Regions from separate parts of the Homo sapiens genome. Here region 1 is linked to region 2. Evidence: promoter capture Hi-C in human tissues and cell types (Jung and others, 2019). All regions are on one chromosome and are shown on one strand. The core of a region is centred on a gene start or on the middle of the fragment in contact, and the rest is flanking DNA. Distances in the headings are between cores, read along the strand shown.

The links. Contacts are between HindIII fragments. The study calls those that stand out against the background at their distance.
Region 1: a contact is called between a fragment that was not itself captured here and the fragment with the promoter of SMKR1 in region 2, in 1 of the 25 tissues and cell types used here (bladder).

The regions. Positions count from the first base shown.
Region 1 is chr7:129,365,824-129,370,273 of GRCh38, reverse strand. The region is part of intron 1 of AHCYL2 (adenosylhomocysteinase like 2); the gene reads right to left. It overlaps LOC107986847 (a long non-coding RNA gene), which reads left to right. Exons shown (of 3, transcript XR_007060518.1): 3 at 1,380-2,250. Among named protein-coding and RNA genes, the nearest start is that of STRIP2, 66 kb to the left of the region's middle. The HindIII fragment of the contact is 5,247 bases long and covers 230-4,450 here.
Region 2 is chr7:129,500,588-129,504,683 of GRCh38, reverse strand. SMKR1 (small lysine rich protein 1) reads right to left here and starts at 2,153. Exons shown (of 2, transcript NM_001195243.2): 1 at 1,857-2,153. The coding sequence starts at 1,859. RefSeq lists silencers at 2,005-2,344, 2,405-2,454. The HindIII fragment of the contact is 29,122 bases long and covers 1-4,096 here.

The DNA.
Region 1 (4,450 bases), core at 1,604-4,103, 140 kb after region 2:
GTCTTCCCATTCACATTAACTAGAAAGAAGGTAAATGGGTGAAAGTTCAGCAGGAGCCACTACTGAACTTTGAGGGGATGTGCTAAGCTTGTAAGACGGTGAGGACTATGACAGAAATAAGAATTATTATAAAACTTTGATTGATTCTGAGTTGGCACACTAATGTTCAGTAGAATTCTTCTGTAATATTCCTTTATAGAAATACCAAAGTTTGATACCTTAACGTGGCCCTTCCCTTAAGAAAACCAAATTTCTTTTTCCCTCTTCTTGTTATTAGTGAGTAGCAAGAAATTCAAAAAAACTCAACCCAATCAGAAGTATTACATAAATCCTTCCATTAATTCTAAAACACTATGTTACTTGGAATAAGCTTGTAGATGGATAGGTTTTCTTTCCACAAAATGTTTTAAAATTGAACACAAGACTGAGCGTGGTGGCTCACACCTGTAATCCCAGCACTGTGGGAGGCCGAGTTGGGTGGATCACCTACGGTCAGGAGTTCAAGACCAGCCTGGCCAACATGGTGAAACCCCATCTCCACCAAAAATACAAAAATTACCCGGTATGGTGGTGCACACCTGTAATCCCAGCTACTTGGGAGGCTGAGACAGGAGAATCACTTGAACCCAGGAAGCGGAGGTTGCAGTGAGCTGAGATCACGCCACTGCACTCCAGCCTGGACAACAGAGCCAGACTCCATTTCAAAAAAAAAAAAAAAAAAAACCTGAACACAATGTTCTGAAACGACATTAAGAAGAACAGCAATAACCTCCCCCAAAACAATAAAAAATAGTTGTAACAATGAGTTGAAATGTAAGTTCCTCAGGGGGCCTTTGTTAGGCCTACTATATATTCTATCTCATTATCAATAGTTATTTCTTCAAATCCATAATTCTATAAACACTAAAAAGAACTTGAAATATGTTTTAGAGAGTCTAACTAGTTTTCCATAGTGGGGAAACACAAATCTGTAAACATAAACCTGTGTGGGCTGTAAGAAATCAGGCTAAATCTAGAAGAAACTATTTAGAAACATAAGGATGGTTATTGTCTTTAAAAGTTGAAATTCGATCCAATATAATAGGTTTATATGCTAGTTCTTATCAACAAATAAGTCCTTATTATCATTTTAGTAAAACTACTGATCAGGCAAACATGGTATTCTGAAGAACTGTACCAAGAGAGCTGCAGTTCCTGCCATAGAGAAATATATATATAAAGGATAGCTGGGGGGGAAATAGGGAAATGTTGTGACTGAAGGGAAAAATACGGGCAGGGAGGGGAGAAATGTTTGCAATCTTTGCAGACTTCAGAGAGCACCATTTCTGTAAGTTCTGTTTTTGTTTTTTCTCCTCATTGTTCTTTTTCTTTACCCCCAGAGAAACAAATGAAGCATCAGGTTGAAAACAGAAGTGCAAAACAGTCACAGGAAACACAACCCATACATCACACCAGCAGCCGGAGGAAAGCCCCTGCCCACCAGAGATGACCAGGCAACAAGCCCTGGCCAGGCAACTCTCACACCTTTCCCAGCTTCGTGGATAATTAAGAAACAGTGGTGACCTAGTACCTAGGAACTAATCAGAACGTAGAGTAATAACTGTTTTTCCAACCACGGATCTTGGTAGGAGCTTCTCAGAGGTGATCCTTGTCACCCGTCAGAAATGGTTGCCTCTCATTATCAAGAAACAGAAGGAGAAACAAAACGACCAGTGAACTCACCATCCACTCAGGCATGTGAAAAGCTGAGGTGCCCTCATTACCGTCCCACTTCTCCATAGTGCAGGCTTGGGTAAGATATGTCCTGAAGCAAAAGGGAAAGCTGGTTTGGAAATACTGGGGTTATCTGAGTGCCCCAAAGCAGACCCAACCCTAGTGAGATTCAGAAGTTCACAGTGGCTAGCAGAAGCTGCATCCCTTTTCACAGCAGCCTCCGATTCAAATCAAGAGCATTAGTCAACTGCCTGACAACCCCTTACTGGCCGGCTTCAAAGCCTTCTGTGTCTGATTTCAAAATCAGAGCTGATGCAAAGTGCTGCACCCAGGCACTGTGCTTCTCACAGGGCACTCACTGTTTTAATGCTACCCAAACACTCTACCCGCACCTCCCCAGTGGGGACTTTCTGCAGCAATAGTTGGACTTCCTTCTTTCCCTGTGTGTGAGGCACTTGTGAATTCTCTCCCACCCTTCAGGACACGTCACTGGAGGTGCGGATACCAAGATCAATAAAGACTGAGGTCAGGAAGGCACTCCCATTTCTCAAGAGTTGCTTGATTTGGATCAGTAAACAGGCGTTTCCTTGAAATCAAGAGCTCCTAGGGCTTTCAAGTTTAAACAGCTATGCAGAAGCTCCCCATCTGCTCACACCAGGGGTCTGGCACCAAACTCTCGCATATCTCAAGTTAGAGTCTTATTGCATGGGAGGTTCGGATGGAGCCTAGGAAGATCTTTTTCAAAATCAGAATTTCTTAGCAGCTCTAAGAAAGTTCTGGGACGACAGCTCCCTCTGCTGGCTCCCTGTGCTACATACACGAAGGCCTCAGGGCCCGCAGCTACAGACACACAGGTGCTGATTGCAAAGTGACTTCACTGAGGCTAGTCAGAAGCCACCACAGTGTAGGTTTAGAGGACAGCCAGGGTTTCCAACCAAGACTAGTGCTGCCTCAAAGTCCCTAACCAATGCTGGATTTTACACACAGATCTGGTTTCAGGAAGAAACAGGATGCCAGTGCAGTAGCCCTGTACACTATCACCTTAAAGGACCTCCGAAGTTGTTTCTGCTTTATCTCTCCATACCAACTCCCTCCTTGCTGCACACTTCAGAATTTTGGAAATAAGACATAACTAGAAAAAAGGTAAGCTAGCCTATCTCACCTGCTTAGTTCATTCCTAGAGTATATTATCCAATAAGAGTACCACAGGTTTCAGGCACAAAGGAAGCCTAACAAGATATGCCTGCTTTGGTCCCTTTAAGGACCAGGACTCTTTACAGTGTTAATTCCCATTGAAGAGGATAGTTTCTCTACAGCTAACAGTGACAATATTATAATTATGATTATAGGCTCTGTGAAAGGAAAACATCTTGGGCCCCCAAAATCACTAAGCCAAAGGGAAAAGTCAAGCTGGAACTGCTTAGGGCAAACCTGCCTCCGATTCTATTCAAAATCACCCCTCTGCTCACTGAGATAAATGCACATCTGATTGCCTACTTTGAAGAGGCCAATCAAAAACTCAAAAGAATGCAACCATTTGTCTCTTATCTACCCATGACCTGGAAGCCCCCTCCCTGCTTCCAGATGTCTCGCCTTTCCAAACTGAACCAGTGTTCATCATACATATGTTGATTGATGTCTCATGTCCCCTTAAAATGTATAAAACCAAACTGTGTTCTGACCACCTTGGGCACATGTCATCAGGACCTCCTGAGGCTGTGTCATGAGTGCACATCCTCAATCTTGGCAAAATAAACTTTCTATAAACTTTTTTTTTTTTTTTTGAGACAGAGTTTTGCTCTTGTTGCCCAGGCTGGAGTGCAATGGCGTGATCTCGGCTCACCGCAACCTCTGCCTCCCAGGTTCAAGCAATTCTCCTGCCTCAGCCTCCCGAGTAGCTGGGATTACAGGCATGCACCACCACGCCCGGCTAACTTTGTATTTTTAGTAGACAGGGTTTCGCCATGTTGAGGCTGGTCTCAAACTCCTGACCTCAGGTGATCCACCTGCCTCAGCCTCCCAAAGTGCTGGGACTACAGGCATGAGCCAGCACGCCTGGCCAACCTTGGCAAAATACTTTCTAAATTAACCGAGACCTGTCTCAGATGTTTGGGGTTCACAGTTCATCACCCTGTAAGGCCTTCATTACTTAAGAGAATGGTCCTTTGGATTTGGAATGGAGGAGAGGAAGGTAATATCTATGGAAGAGGTACTGTAAGATGCCAGAGAGGGCAGAATTCAAATGAATGGCCAGAGGTTTGACTGGAGAGAAAGGCAGGTGAAAACAGGGACTGTTGAACCAGGTGCATTCAGACGTATCAAGGGATCACAGGGAGGGTGGAGAGCAGGCGAAATAAGAACAGCAGAGGTAGAAGTAAAGGAAGCTGTGGTCATAGAGGAGCTATGGAGTTGAGGCGACTTGAGTGATGTCAGGACACAGGGTGATGAGATGCAGGGAAAATAAGGCCCACTGAAGTCAGAGTGTCAACTCTGATAAAGTCTTAGCTCCTAGCAACCTCTAATTATTGTCCTCTGTCTTCCTTTAAACCCAGAGGACTTCTTAAAATGAGAAGTCACATCTGTTACCTAAATTGCCAATGGTGTATTTCATCTGTGCTTTAAATGCAACACATCTACAATCAACATTATTGCTGTCTTTCCTTTCCCGCCCCCCTCCAAACAACACTTTCTTCTCCTCACTTTTTGTGTTTGTGATGCCACTGTCCTCAGGCAACCA
Region 2 (4,096 bases), core at 904-3,403:
TACTCAGGCTGCTGAGGTGGGAGGACCCCTTGAGCCCAGGAATTCAAGGCCAAAGTGAGCTATGTATGATGCCATCGCACTCCAGCCTGGGCAACAAAGCAAAACCCTATCTCTAAAAAAAAAAAAACAAAAACAAAGAAATTAATAAAGAAAGACCCTATAATGCCTATAACACATGGAATTATAATAGCACAAGATGGGCAAGGGCTGACCTCATCTGGGCCATCAAAGGAAGGGCTCCCTAAGCGTGGCCTGTGGGCCGAGAGTAGGGAATTCCAAGACCAACAGCCTATGCAAAGTCTCTGAAGCCGGAGAGAAGGTGCACAAAGAGACGGAAACCCAAAAAAGGCCAACATGGCCAGCCCACAGGCAGCCAAGGGGGCCAGTGAGAGCAGCTAAGGAAGGAAAGGTAGGCAAGGTTCCGCTCTGGCTTGCAGGCTCTGTGCACTAATGTGTTTGACCCTCATTCAAGGAGCATGAATTAACTGGCATTTGCTTCAATGGCTATGTACAGCATTCTGCCTCAGTTCCCTGGGCCCTGAAAGAAATGGCAGTTGGCTGGGCACAGTGGCTCACACCTGTAATCCCAGCAATTTGAGAGGCCAAGGCGGGCGGATCCCTTGAGCCCAGGCGTTTGAGACCAGCCTGGGCAACATGGCGAAACCCTGTCTCTACTAAAAATACAGAGATTAGCCAGGCATGGTGATGCCTGCCTACGGTCCGAGCTACTTGGGAGGCTGAGGCGGGAGGATCACTTGAGCCTCAGAGATGGAGGCTGCAGTCAGCTGTGATCACACCACTGTACTCCAGCCTGTGTGACAAAGTAAGACCCTGTCAAAAAAAAAAAAAAAAAAGGTAATAGCTCTTTACCTTTAATAGCTCATGGAATGACTCTCAAACCAAGAAATTTTTACTTAATCCTTTTACACGAAACAAACTGGAAAGAACACAGAAACTTAATGATTTCTACACTAGAGTCTAATGAGGAATAAGGCTTTCCAAGGAAAAACAGGCAAAGCACCAGAGGTGAGGTGCAAAGGGCTGTGGGCGCTGAAGGAGCGATGGGGAAGCAGGAGGCAGGGTCCTTCTGATCCAAGCCTCAAAGAAAACGGATCAAGACAGGGAAGGCGCAAGGGGCTTCCAGAAGAACGCGGGTTTAGTGTGGGATGCAGGGTTTTTGTTCGTTTTGTTTGTTGTTGTTTAGCAGAGAAGATATGGCAGAGAAAGCTCGAGGTTGAGGCCCCTTTAGCAAGGGCTCTGTGCGCCCAGCTCAAGCGTGCAGTACTTAGTTTAGCAGACAATGATGCCTCCCTGAGGACTTGGGGCAGGGGCTGGAAGGTCACAGCCCTTCTGGAAAGAGCAGCGAGGGTTGGAAGGAGGTCGTAAGTGACTGGATGAGGGCTGAGAACAGGAATGCTGTTGACAGCAAGGTGGTGGTACCAGGCTCACTCTCTGCTTCCTGAGTCTGCAGAGCAGTGGAGAATCCCGCGCGGGCACCCAGGGTGGCTACGGCAGCTAACAGCTCGGACCCGTCACTGTGGGCATGGCCTGGCGCCCTGACGTGCCACACCACGGTGCCACCCTCCCTTTATTTTCCACATCAACCGTCTGGGTGTGGGGGCTGCTCAACAGGACCACGACCTAAAACCTGGAAAGACGGCTGGCCTGACTCCGCGGCTGCTGCGCCCCCAGCAGGCGCGGACCGCCGGGCACCCCTTGTCCCTCCATCTTTTCGCCACGCGTTGAGGTCGACCCCAGGGAGAGGCGGTGACCTCGGCGCCCGCGCCTCTCCGGGACAGCCTGGGGCTCCACGGCGCGCGCCCTGGCCCCGGGTACTTTAGGGAGACGGGGATTACCATGGCGATTCTCAGCCGAGCAGGCAGGCGTGGTGGACTCTCCCGATCCCGAAGCCCTTAGCATCCACCGGGGCCGCTGCCCCCAGCGCCCGTTCCCCTAGCACCCCCGGCCCCTTCTCGGCCCTCCTCAGGGAACCGCCACGGGCCCAGCCTCACTACGCCTCCCCGCCACGCCTCGCTGGGAGGAGCGCGGCCGGCTCGGGAGGCAGCCAGCCGCGGAGCCGCCTGGACGCGAGGCACCTGCTTGCCCCACGCGGCACCTAGGCCGCCGCAGCTGTGGGCGCTGGGCCGGCGTGCGCCTCGGGGGCGGGGCCGCGCGCACAATCACCGGGCGTGGGGCAGGGCCTCGCCGTGGTTACCGTTGCCAGGGCAAAGCGGCAGCGCGCGGAGGGTGAGCGGAGCGGGGTTCCGGGCTTGCGCGCGCGGGATGGGCCGTCACCTAGTACGAGGCCGACCGCGGCCTCCAGCGCCCGGAAACCCAGTTCGGCGCTTTAGCGTCTGGGTTTGGGCTGCCGGAGCGGCGGGCGCGGGGCGAGGGGGCGGGCGCGGGGCGAGGGGGCGGGCGCGGGGCGAGGGGGCGGGCGCGGGCGGCGCTCCCACTGGGGTGGCACTGGGGTGAGAGCGCAGGCTAGGCCCGCTCACTCGGCCAACCTGGGAGAGATCATCGGAGAAGCTCTTTTGGGAAACGAGCATAAGGACTGTGACGGTGAAGGGAGAATATCATGGGAAATGTTTGCAAAAGAGCCGGATAAAGAGAGTAAGGGCCCGAGAGACTAAAGGGGTGGGGAGGGAGTTCATGTGCAGGTAGGATTGGGCGAGAAAGGTACAGTAGGTACAGTTTTGCCTCCAACCTTGCCAGTTCCAGCCTCCCTCCCTGCAGGTGAAGTCTACACTTCGGGTGGTACGACTCATTCTTTTTTATGACTGGTCATTCCTTTTTTTTTTTTTTGAGACCGAGTCTCTCTCTGTCGCCCAGGTTGGAGTGCAGTGGCGCCATCTCGGTTCACTGCAACCTCCGCCTCCCAAGTTTAAACCATTCTCCTGCCTCAGCCTCTTGAGTAGCTGGGATTACAGATGCGTACCACTATGCCCGGCTAATTTTTGTATTTTTAGTAGAGATGGGGTTTCGCCATGTTGGTCACGCTGGTCTCGAACTTCTGACCTCAGGTGATCTGCCCGCCTCAGCCTCCCAAAGTGCTGGGATTACAGACGTGAGCCACTGCCCGGCCTATCATTCCTTTTTATTCAACAGTTATTGAGCATCTGCCACGTGCCTGACACTCTTCCAGGCCCTGGAAATTGAGCTCTGAATGAGGCAAAGTCCTTGTTCTTTTAAGGGGTGATTTGGGGGAGGTGGTCGTGGCTGAAATGGAGGGCCTGGCAGACATTAAAAGTGATAGGGACAGTATGGCATATTGCATTAAATTGATGTGACCACTGGGTGCTCTTTTAGATTGGTGACTGGGGAAGGCCTCTCTGAGGAGGTGACGTTAAAACAGATCTGGATGACAAGGAGCAGTCAATTATGCCAAAATTAGGGACAGGGGGAGGAGGCTAGACCAAGAAGCAGGAGTAGGGTCCTGGAAGGCTCTGCAAGGATGTGGTGTTTTGTTTGCTTTCTCTTGAAAGACAAACTGGCTTCCAAAGAGGACTGTTTATGTTCTAGGTTCTCTTACATATGCTTTCCCTAATCCTTCATTAACAGAGCAAACCCAACTTCCAGCTACTTTTAATATGTCTGTGAGTTTTTCTTATGAGTCCATATGCCCTGGATATGGCAAATTCTCCTGCCCTCCACCTGCACTTTCTTCTCTTCTTGCGCCTGTCTTCATCCCTGGATGGGGCTGGCCCACCCCAGCCGCTTACACTTCTCTGGGTTATCTCAGCTCTCCCAAGGTTACCCCTATGGGATCACTCCCAAATCTGTTCCAGCCCTGCTTTTCCTGAGCTCCAGATCAGAGATCCAGAGCCCTGCTACAAGGTTGTTTTGTTTTCTTTCTTTTCTTTTCTTTTCTTTTTCTTTTCTTTTCTTTTTTTTTTTTTTTTGAGATGGAGTCTTGCTCTGTTGCCCAGGCTGGAGTGCAATGGCACGATCACTGCTCACTGCAACCTCTGCCCCTTGGGTTCAAGCAATTCTCCTGCCTCAGCCTCCCAAGTAGCTGGGATTACAAAGCATGCGCTATCACGCCCGGCTAATTTTTGTATTTTTAGTAGAGACAGGGGCCAGGCTGGTCTTGAAC